2 separate regions of the Homo sapiens genome follow, and region 1 is linked to region 2. Evidence: promoter capture Hi-C in 16 types of primary human blood cells and fetal thymus (Javierre and others, 2016). All regions are on one chromosome and are shown on one strand. The core of a region is centred on a gene start or on the middle of the fragment in contact, and the rest is flanking DNA. Distances in the headings are between cores, read along the strand shown.

The links. Contacts are between HindIII fragments. The CHiCAGO score rates a contact against its expected background, and 5 or more counts as called.
Region 1: a contact is called between a fragment that was not itself captured here and the fragment with the promoter of MORC4 in region 2, in 1 of 17 cell types (naive CD4 T cells). The highest score is 7.2, in naive CD4 T cells.

The regions. Positions count from the first base shown.
Region 1 is chrX:108,073,818-108,079,309 of GRCh38, forward strand. VSIG1 (V-set and immunoglobulin domain containing 1) reads left to right here. Exons shown (of 7, transcript NM_182607.5): 6 at 2,260-2,401; 7 at 3,231-5,367. The coding sequence ends at 3,564. Among named protein-coding and RNA genes, the nearest start is that of PSMD10, 15 kb to the right of the region's middle. The HindIII fragment of the contact is 7,715 bases long and covers 1-5,146 here.
Region 2 is chrX:106,996,031-107,001,559 of GRCh38, forward strand. It overlaps MORC4 (MORC family CW-type zinc finger 4), which reads right to left and starts at 4,182. Exons shown (of 17, transcript NM_024657.5): 1 at 3,838-4,182; 2 at 3,647-3,719. The coding sequence starts at 3,939. RefSeq lists silencers at 3,947-4,156, 4,167-4,246. The HindIII fragment of the contact is 4,977 bases long and covers 2,136-5,529 here.

The DNA.
Region 1 (5,492 bases), core at 39-2,538, 1.1 Mb after region 2:
GAATTATGCTGAGTATTATCTCACTCTTTCCTCCCAACCACCCCTATCTAGGGAGGCAGACTATTGTCGGCCTCATTTTGCTGAAAAGAACACTGAAGCTCAGGGAAGTAAATGACTTGCCCAAGGTCATCCAGTTAGTAACTGGCAGAGCCAGGATGCCTCTAAACCTCAATTTTCCTATTCGAAGGTGCTTACTCACTCTCTGAGTGTAAGATTTAAGACTCCTGGAATTGTCCAATTGAGCTGACCCAGGGGCAACTCCTCACAAGGAATATCTCACCAAACATCTCAAGGATCACTTAATAACACTTAGGATCTTTTTTCAAACTTACTTTGAATTTGTGATTTTAATATATGCCATATCCAGGGATGGCAAGTTCCAGTGGGTTTTTGCTCTTCCTATGCACCTGAACTTTCTTCCTTTTATTTCTCCTGAAGTTTGCTCCTTTATTCTCATATCACTTTCAGCTATATTTCCTGCATCATTTCTGTTATCTTTCTTTAGAATTCCCTCAATATCTTTTTGCCTTCTCAGAGGTACAATCATACTGCAGATGTAGAGATATGTAGGATTTGGACTTGAGCATTGCTTCCTTTCTAGTCTTTTTTCCAATGATGTCCAGCACTGCCTTCCTCTCTCCCTCCCACATCCCTTCTTTCTTCCTTCCTTCCTCAAATATTTATTGAATATCTACTGTGTTCCAGGGACTGTCCTAGGTGATAAAGATACAGAGATAAAGAAGATGTATGTCCTATACTCAAGGAGCTCACAGTTCAGCTAGAGGGACAAACACAACTAAAACATGCTAAATCCTATAATAGAAGTCTGAACAGGGTCTATAGAGCACCAAGGGAGGAAAATTATGCTTATAGAACTGGGATGGCTTTACCAACAAAGTGCTATTTGAGCAGGATCTTGAAGGAACTTGCAAAGCCTCATCATCTATAAAATGGGAAAGCTGAAGCATGACGGTAGAGCAGCAGGCTTAGGAGAGCAACCAGGTCATGATGGGGGAAGAGAATGGAGGGCTTCACATGGCATGTCTCTGAGGGAAAAATCACAAGAAACTGATATATCATCTGATATGTTTGAATCAATTGAAAGAAGTTTAATGGTTTTGTTGGAAATTTCGGGATGAGTGATAATGCATTTATTAATCCCCAAATGAAGCAATTATTAACCTCCGGGAAAATTTTTGTAAATGTTGTACAAGAAAGAATCATAGTATACTGTGTTCCTCAGCTGTGAACAATATTTATATAGCCATACTACTGCAAACTTGGATTTAACTAAAACTTGTGATATAACTATTTTGGAAGAACATGGTGGGTGTGAGGGGAGTGGTGTAAAAGAGCTCAATCTCCAACTTCTAGGGTACGAAGTTGAAAGAAAATGATGGAATGGAAAAAAGGTAGGACATATCAGAGCAAACATAATAAAAACATGGGGGCAAGAAGACTTTTAAAAAGAGTTAAGAGTGGTTGCCTTTCGTGAATGGGACTCAGAAACGGGAAGGAGTCGGGCAGGGAACTGCTGTTTTTGTGAGACATGTAGTAGAACTATTTGACTTTTTAAACTATTTACTTATATTCTCTTAATCATAAAAAGTTAAAGGAATTATTATCAGGCAGCTCAAAATATAAGGTGTCCATCCTTGTGTGAGGGGAGGCAGATGGGGTTGGGTTGGCTTATAACCCAGATGTGGTCTTCCAGAGACAACACCTCAGGGCTTGAAGGTCTGGTGCTCAGCTGGATAATGTCCCACTCATTAAGTTTGTCCATAGACCGAGACAATAAACCAGATGCCTGTTTATCAAAATGGGCATATCACTTCCCAGTGACCAGAGTGCATGAGGTTCCTTCGTAAGCATTGACGCCATGGGGGAGGTTTTTAGGGACCAATTTCACCTGTGCTCTGGGAAAGCCTAGTGAAATGTTCCTGCCTGTAACAGAGGCTTATCTCTAGTGACCAGATCACAACTCCATGGTGTCTCAAGACTCTTTTCTCTAAATCCCATTTCAAAAGCAACCCCACCTCCTCCAAGTTGGCCACATTTTATTCTTTATGTGCACAAATGTCAATAGTCTTCTCCCACTGTGAGTCCAAATGACAGAGTTCTAGGGGTTTCCATTTCCCTAGCCTATACAAGTCATTTTCCCACTATGTGAATGGCCCTGATATTCCCCACTAGTCACAAACACACATTATAAAATGACAATATATTCCACTTTATTAACCAGCTGCTTGTATCCTTCAGATCCAGAAGTTGGAATCATTGTTGGGGCCTTGATTGGTAGCCTGGTAGGTGCCGCCATCATCATCTCTGTTGTGTGCTTCGCAAGGAATAAGGCAAAAGCAAAGGCAAAAGAAAGAAATTCTAAGACCATCGCGGAACTTGAGTAAGCCTTCATTTTGTTGTCTTTACTTGAATACAAACATTTCTCAGGCATGTCTTTTTCAGTCATCAATTCCTAAGCACTCCTTTTAGTATAAGATATCAGAGGTATCTTTCTGTTTACTCTCATTGAATTTAAAAAAGAATGATGATGGCTGCTATTTATTGAGTGCTGTGTGCCAGGCTCTGTTCTAAGCACTTTATGTACATCAACTCATTTAGCTATCACAACAGTTTTAGGTCCAAGAAAACATTTTCATATATAATACTAACATACTTGTCTTAATACCAACATAGTCATGAAATATAATTTTAAATTTTTTTATGGAACAAGAGACCCACAAGGACAGTGCCCAGGGAACACAGAAGTTAGAATGTGGCCCAGCCCACAGCTCATGCTCTTAATCACTCTATTTCTTTCCTAGTGTGTATCTCACTCATTCATTTTTTTTCATCTCCTTGCTTCTACAACTATCTATTGGGTATCAACCAGGTGCCAAGTATTGTACTAGATGGAGTGAGAAATAGCGATACATCAGAGCTATGAATTTGGACCTTAAAGACCTTATTAGATTCTTAGACTCTTTCATTCTGACATTATTTTCCCACCTTGAAACACTGCTCTTTCTTAAACTTTCATGATATTGTTGAGACCTAACCTTTCTGAATCCAAAATGACCTATGGCCTGACAATGAGTCAGAATATCAGAAATAACAGATTTCCTGAAGTCTGGGACCTATGGTCATTGAAGCTACAGAACATATGGTTTCACATGAAATTTCAAAGTTAGCATCTCCCTAACTTGTTCTTTTCTGGGCCTTCTTTCTTGCAGGCCAATGACAAAGATAAACCCAAGGGGAGAAAGCGAAGCAATGCCAAGAGAAGACGCTACCCAACTAGAAGTAACTCTACCATCTTCCATTCATGAGACTGGCCCTGATACCATCCAAGAACCAGACTATGAGCCAAAGCCTACTCAGGAGCCTGCCCCAGAGCCTGCCCCAGGATCAGAGCCTATGGCAGTGCCTGACCTTGACATCGAGCTGGAGCTGGAGCCAGAAACGCAGTCGGAATTGGAGCCAGAGCCAGAGCCAGAGCCAGAGTCAGAGCCTGGGGTTGTAGTTGAGCCCTTAAGTGAAGATGAAAAGGGAGTGGTTAAGGCATAGGCTGGTGGCCTAAGTACAGCATTAATCATTAAGGAACCCATTACTGCCATTTGGAATTCAAATAACCTAACCAACCTCCACCTCCTCCTTCCATTTTGACCAACCTTCTTCTAACAAGGTGCTCATTCCTACTATGAATCCAGAATAAACACGCCAAGATAACAGCTAAATCAGCAAGGGTTCCTGTATTACCAATATAGAATACTAACAATTTTACTAACACGTAAGCATAACAAATGACAGGGCAAGTGATTTCTAACTTAGTTGAGTTTTGCAACAGTACCTGTGTTGTTATTTCAGAAAATATTATTTCTCTCTTTTTAACTACTCTTTTTTTTTATTTTAGACAGAGTCTTGCTCCGTCGCGCAGGCTGTGATCGTAGTGGTGCGATCTCGGCTCACTGCAACCTCCGCTCCCTGGGTTCAAGCGATTCTCCTGCCTGAGCCTCCTGAGTAGCTGGGACTACAGGCACGTGCCACCACGCCCGGCTAATTTTTTGTATTTTTAGTAGAGATGGGGTTTCACGTTGTTAGCCAGGATGGTCTCCATCTCCTGACCTCATGATCCGCCCACCTTGGCCTCCCAAAATGCTGGGATTACAGGCATGAGCCACTGCGCCCGGCCTCTTTTTAGCTACTCTTATGTTCCACATGCACATATGACAAGGTGGCATTAATTAGATTCAATATTATTTCTAGGAATAGTTCCTCATTCATTTTTATATTGACCACTAAGAAAATAATTCATCAGCATTATCTCATAGATTGGAAAATTTTCTCCAAATACAATAGAGGAGAATATGTAAAGGGTATACATTAATTGGTACGTAGCATTTAAAATCAGGTCTTATAATTAATGCTTCATTCCTCATATTAGATTTCCCAAGAAATCACCCTGGTATCCAATATCTGAGCATGGCAAATTTAAAAAATAACACAATTTCTTGCCTGTAACCCTAGCACTTTGGGAGGCCGAGGCAGGTGGATCACCTGAGGTCAGGAGTTCGAGACCAGCCTGGCCAACATGGCGAAACCCCTTCTCTACTAAAAATACAAAAATTAGCTGGGCGTGGTAGTGCATGCCTGTAATCCCAGCTACTTGGGAGGCTGAGGCAGGAGAATCGCTTGAACCCAGGAGGTGGAGGTTGCAGTGAGCCGAGATTGTGCCACTGCACTCCAACCTGGGTGACAGAGTGAGATTCCATCTGAAAAACAAAAACAAAAACAGAAAACAAACAAACAAAAAACAAAAAATCCCCACAACTTTGTCAAATAATGTACAGGCAAACACTTTCAAATATAATTTCCTTCAGTGAATACAAAATGTTGATATCATAGGTGATGTACAATTTAGTTTTGAATGAGTTATTATGTTATCACTGTGTCTGATGTTATCTACTTTGAAAGGCAGTCCAGAAAAGTGTTCTAAGTGAACTCTTAAGATCTATTTTAGATAATTTCAACTAATTAAATAACCTGTTTTACTGCCTGTACATTCCACATTAATAAAGCGATACCAATCTTATATGAATGCTAATATTACTAAAATGCACTGATATCACTTCTTCTTCCCCTGTTGAAAAGCTTTCTCATGATCATATTTCACCCACATCTCACCTTGAAGAAACTTACAGGTAGACTTACCTTTTCACTTGTGGAATTAATCATATTTAAATCTTACTTTAAGGCTCAATAAATAATACTCATAATGTCTCATTTTAGTGACTCCTAAGGCTAGTCCTTTTATAAACAACTTTTTCTGACATAGCATTTATGTATAATAAACCAGACATTTAAAGTGTACAATTTGATGAGTTTTGACAGAGCACATACCCATGAAACCACCACACCCATCTAGAGAGAAAACATTTCCATCAGCCCAAAATGTTTCTTCATGCCCCTTTGTGCGATCCCACCATTGCCCTGGA
Region 2 (5,529 bases), core at 2,932-5,431:
GAACATTCACGATTCAAACATGTAACACCTATCAATTGCAACTACATGTTTACCCAACGGTGCATTCAACGAATCAGCTCAAAGGCCTCTCACAAAATCATCTCAATTCTTTTCCTCTTTACTGCAAGTTTTGCCCAAACTTTACTAGGTACTTTTTTTTTTTTTTTTTTTTTTACAGGAACACACCAAATAGTTTTAACACAGGCACTTCAGGAGTTACAATGTAGCTGCCAGGAGCAGCTCAACATTTTATCTCCTTGGCTGGAAGCTCATGGAATACAAGGGGGAGGGGGCATGCAAGAGGCCAGGGTCAGCTGGAGCAGTAGGGAAAGAGAGATCAGTAGAGAGGCACCAGCAAGCACGGTTTTGTACTTACTTTCAGTTTTACATGGCCCTTCATTCGGTCTCAGCAAATGAAATTACAATAATAATAAGGCTGGCCTCAATAAATGAACTTATGATAACAAGGCACCGATCTGGAGGCTGGTTTCAATCCTACCTCTGGCTGCTTAACCCTCCAAAAATTTACCAATACATGGCAAGTGCTATTGGATCCCAGAAAATCTATCTTCTCCCCTAACCCGGCCCATCCAGCCAATGAACAGGTAGCACAATGAAAGAACCCTTACTCCTCTCTCCCTGCCCACCACTTAGGTGAGAAGTGTGCTATCAGATGCTGGAGTGTCTTCATTCCCTAACCTGGCCACACAAGCCCATGTGCTACCAGATCACAAGGAGTTTTCTCTCTCCTAACTTGGCTCGTGCTATCCCTTCGTGGGAGGACCCCATCTCTACCTTCCCCCTGCTCTCGTTATCTCATCAGAATCTAGGAGGCAATGAGAAACTATTCCATGACAGCCTCCCAGGAGAGATAAGATGGCAAATGGGAGATGGCTTTGAGGTAGTGCTTCACAAGCCTCTCATCCTTTTCTGTTTCATAGCATCATAAGGCTCCCATCCTCCCCTGTTCCAGAAGGATGGCCTATAGGTGGCTACATGAAAGATTGCCAAGGGTGGAGCTACTGTCCTACATAAATCCTAGAGGTATCTAAAAGTATTCCTGCCTAAAGGTAAGGTCATCACCTTTTGTCACAAGCCTATTCTTCCTTTGTTACAAACACACACAAGGTTAGCATTGAATAGACCACAAATTTGAAATTTAAGTAATTTTCTTATCCCTCCCTCTCCTTTACCCTATGCATCCCTAGACGTTCTCATATCCTATTTACTCTATTTCCATTGTCAGTCTCTTACAGAGTTTATTTCCTCTCATCTGGATTATTGCAATAACCTCCTGTCATATAAATCCGTATCTCTCTCCTTCAATTGTATACACTGCTGCAAGACTGACTTTCCTGAAGCACAGCTCTGATCATGACATTCCCCTGCTCAGAAAACTTCAGGCTAAAAAGCCAGATATTGGAGCCTCCCAATCACATCCTGATCCCAGATGACCTTTTTAACCTCATCCTTACTTAGTATCTGGCGTAAAAAGGCCTGTGTTTGAGTCCTGGATCTGCTACTTAGTATATATGTAACCTTGGAAAAGTCAACTAAATTTTCTGAACCTCTTTTTCTTCATCTGCAGGATGAAAATAAATGTTTACCTCAAATGGTAATGTTAAAAAGTTATTTGTGAAAGCTGCTTGTAAACTTTTTAAGTACCTATCGTTTTTACTATTTGTGAACCCCATGCTCTAATTAAACTCCACTCAATATTCTTCATGCCTTTGTTCAAGCAGTTGTTCCTTTTGCCTGGAATTCCTCCCCGCCCATATCCACATGTCCCAATCCTTCAAATCTCAGCTTAAATGTCACCTCCTCCACAAAGCCTTTCCTAACCTTCCTCTTCCTGATAAACTGGAAGCCATTCCTCCTTCCTCTGAACTCCCACAGCACTTGTTTTTATCTTTGTTTATATATCGATTTCCATTTTGTTGTTAGACAAAGCATAAACCTTCTGTACATGTTTTATCTCCCCTACTAGAAGAGTGAATCTGTGTTGTATTCATTTTTGTGCCTACCACAGTGGCCTTGCGCACAGTGGGTGCTCAATAAATATTTACCAAATGAATGATTCACTAGAAAATTAATGCTTAAGTGGAGAAAATGATTGAAGGAAAACCTAAAATGAAAGCTTTGGATTGCCAGTTAACACTTTGCTCTCTCTTTTCCCTATTATTAATATTTTCACAAATAGTTGTTATTTGGTCTTAAAATCTATGTTTGTATACATGTATGCATGCATGTGTGTGCATAATACATACACATACTCGCGCTCATACTGGACGTCTTAGATCCGGCTTAGGTTCTTTAAGGTAATGCTTATGGCCAAAATCACAAATATCCAAAATTACAAATTGGAAACTCATTAAATCACCTGGAAAGTACAGTAAGCACAGCACAGGTATATCACGTTCTGCACCGTGCCAACCATGAGAGAACAATACATTTCGCTTTCCCATCCCCCACTATGTAAATCACTACTTTTTGCTCCCTTGTAGTCTTTCTTGTAAATTACATACTTAACTTGGATTGTATTCCATTCTGCAGAGGTTCAGTGCACAGCCCCAAGGCACAGTACCAAACCTCAAAGATACAGTCCCTCTGCTCTAGGGTTCCAAACGTATCAATTCCACTTTTTGCCTTTCACCTTCTAATTAAATTACACATATTGTAAAGCATTCCGTGTTATGGTTAATCATCAAAGGTCTCTATCATTCTTATCACCCTTCCAAGTAAGTCCCCTGCTACCCATTGACTTCTTACCCAAGATAACTCTCATGGCATGGCCACAGCGACTGCTTAAGTAGAGACCGGGGTTCATTTGGGGAGCTTTGAAAACATTTTCAAGAGTTTGTTCTGTGCAACCTTGCCCATAAACACTTCTTCCTTCTTTCGATTTTCAAAGCATGTATAATGCGCCCTGTATGCTGCTGCGTTTTGTGCAGGACTGCGTTTCTTCTTTGCTTTCCACACAGTAGCACACTACTGCAAAAACTGGTGTAATTGGCTTGAAGGGATCAACTGAAAACACTTTAAAAGCAAACACCGGTGGAGCGAGAGGTTAAGTCCTCAATATTCATTCCAGCGGTGTGAGGGCGCTCGTGGACCACGGACCCAGCCCTCCGCAGTAGCAGGGAGCCAAATGCACTCGTGTCATCTCTTAAGAGATGTCCCATCATTCCTAACTTTTCTTGTCTCAAAAGTTAAGGAACTCCGCTTTCCAGACCTTTCCCCAGGACCCGCCTCGGTCCTCTACGCCCCTTTGCTAGCTAGGCATCCTCCGTCGGTCGCCAGCCCCTGCGGACCCAGCTGCCTCAGGGCCCGAGGTTTTTATGCATCTCCTTTTGATTACTAACTAAGCTATCCTAAAGTGCCCGAACGTCACGAGCGCGAGAGAAAAACCACACTGGTGTCTTTAACGCTTCAGACACACCTCGTTTCCTCCGTTTTATGAGCGGAACCTAGTTCCTGGCGAGAGAGCCATCCCCCTCCTCCGCCTGCGGAGCCGGGGCCGGTTCCGAGGCCCCCACCCCAGCCCCGGCCCGCCCCGCGCGGCTCTGCGCATTCCTCTCGCGTCCGCGGCACCACGCTGGCACCACTGCCTCGGGCGAACACGGCCGGGCCCGCCCTCGCCACTCACCTAGCAGCTCCGCGATGGCACTGAAGGGTCGCGTGTGGCTGCTGGAGTTGCTCTGGAGGTAGCGGGGGCTCATCTGGGGGCGAGAGAAGGTCCCGACCCGCGTGAGGCCTCGGCCCGCCGGGCCCTCCCCGCGCGCCCCCCGCAGCCCAGGGGCCCGCGCGCGCGTCCGCCCCCTCGGGCCCCGGACCTACCGTGCTCAGGCGGATCCCGAAGGCCTGCGGGCCGCCGCCGGGCCGGGCCAGCCCGCAGCCCGGCGCGCCAGGGCCGGCGGGGGCCCCTCGGTACAGGAGCATTTTTTTGGCCGCCACGGTACCCGTCTGCTGCCGCCGGACCCCTGGCCCGGCGGTCCGGGACTAGCCCTCGCTCACTTCCACTCGCAGCTGGCGGCGACCGTCCGGGACCGGCCCTCCCTCGCTCCCACTCGCAGCTGGCGGAGGCGGAGCGCGCTCCAGCCACCTGTCCCGGGCGGGAGGGGTGAGGCCGGCTGAGGCAAGCGGCGGCTCCGCCCTGTCAGCACCTCTACCGACCCGGCGACTGCCCGGGCTGCCTCTGGGCCGTACAGAAATATGGCGACCTCCTGACAGCCGCTCCTTGATCCCCGCCCCTAATTAATTATTGGCGTATGCCATAGGCCAGGCCGCCGAGCGGGAAAGCGCGGGGGGCGGGGGTGGCGCGTGGGGAGGGGCGTGAATGAAGCAAGAGGAGGGAGAGCATGTATGGGATTTCTGGAACCTAGTCCCGCTTAGGCTGCATGACTAACAGGCAAGATAAGACAAGTCTTTCAAGTTCTAAAGACTACAGTGTTGCTATCTGGGAAGATAGCAAGCTCGCCTGATGGGAAAACATTCTACCTACTCTGCCTCAAATGCCTCCAGAAGCACCCAGAACTTTCTGGAAGGCAATTAGCAAACTATCTCCAAAGTCTTGCTAGCATGCAGGGACGGTGTTTCTAAAAGGAGAAATTGGATTCACTTAAATACCGCCAAGTAGGGGATTGGTCGAGTTATGAAGTATGCATAAAATGAAATACCATCCAGTTCTTGAAGGCCATGTTTGTAGATAAGTATGTGTTGATGTAGAAAAATATTCATGAAGGAATGAAGAAAACAAGGAGTTACAACATATTGTGGAACGCATGATGCCTTTTCTATTGGAAAAACAAATATATATGTATACATATATACATATATATATATGCATGCATACACACATATACACATACATACATACATATATATATACACACACACACACACAACGAAAACCACTTGATATACACCAAGATGATATCTCTGGGTCTGGAACTAGACACTTTTTCCTTTTTTCTTACCTGTGTTTTCTAATATACTATAAATATACACTGATAATAGAAAAACAGATTCATTAAAAACATATGTAATGTTCTATGGCATGAATGAACTATAATTTATTTGACCATTCCTTTATGGTAATTTAGGTTGTCCTCTTTTTTTAATTTTGACAATACAAAAAATGCTCCTTCACACACTCGTGTACAGGTCATTAATTTCTGATACTGTTATCTCCACAGAATGAATTCCAAAAGATGAGACTGCTGCATCTAATAGCATGTGCATGGTTTAATCTTAATAAATACTGTAAGATAGGCAATTTGCCCTCCCAGCAACAATCAGTGCTCTTTTGTCATGTTCATAGCACTAGATGGTCCCAATCTTTTAACTTTTTGATAGTCTTTTCAATAAAAAATAGTATCTCCTTATTGTTTTAATTTGCATTTTCCTGACTACCAGTAAGGCTGAATATCTTTTCAAATGTTTAGTATACATTTGCATCTCCTCTTCTACAAATGCCTGTTTATGTCCTTTGAGCATCATTTTTTACCCCCATTGGGTGCTTTACATTTG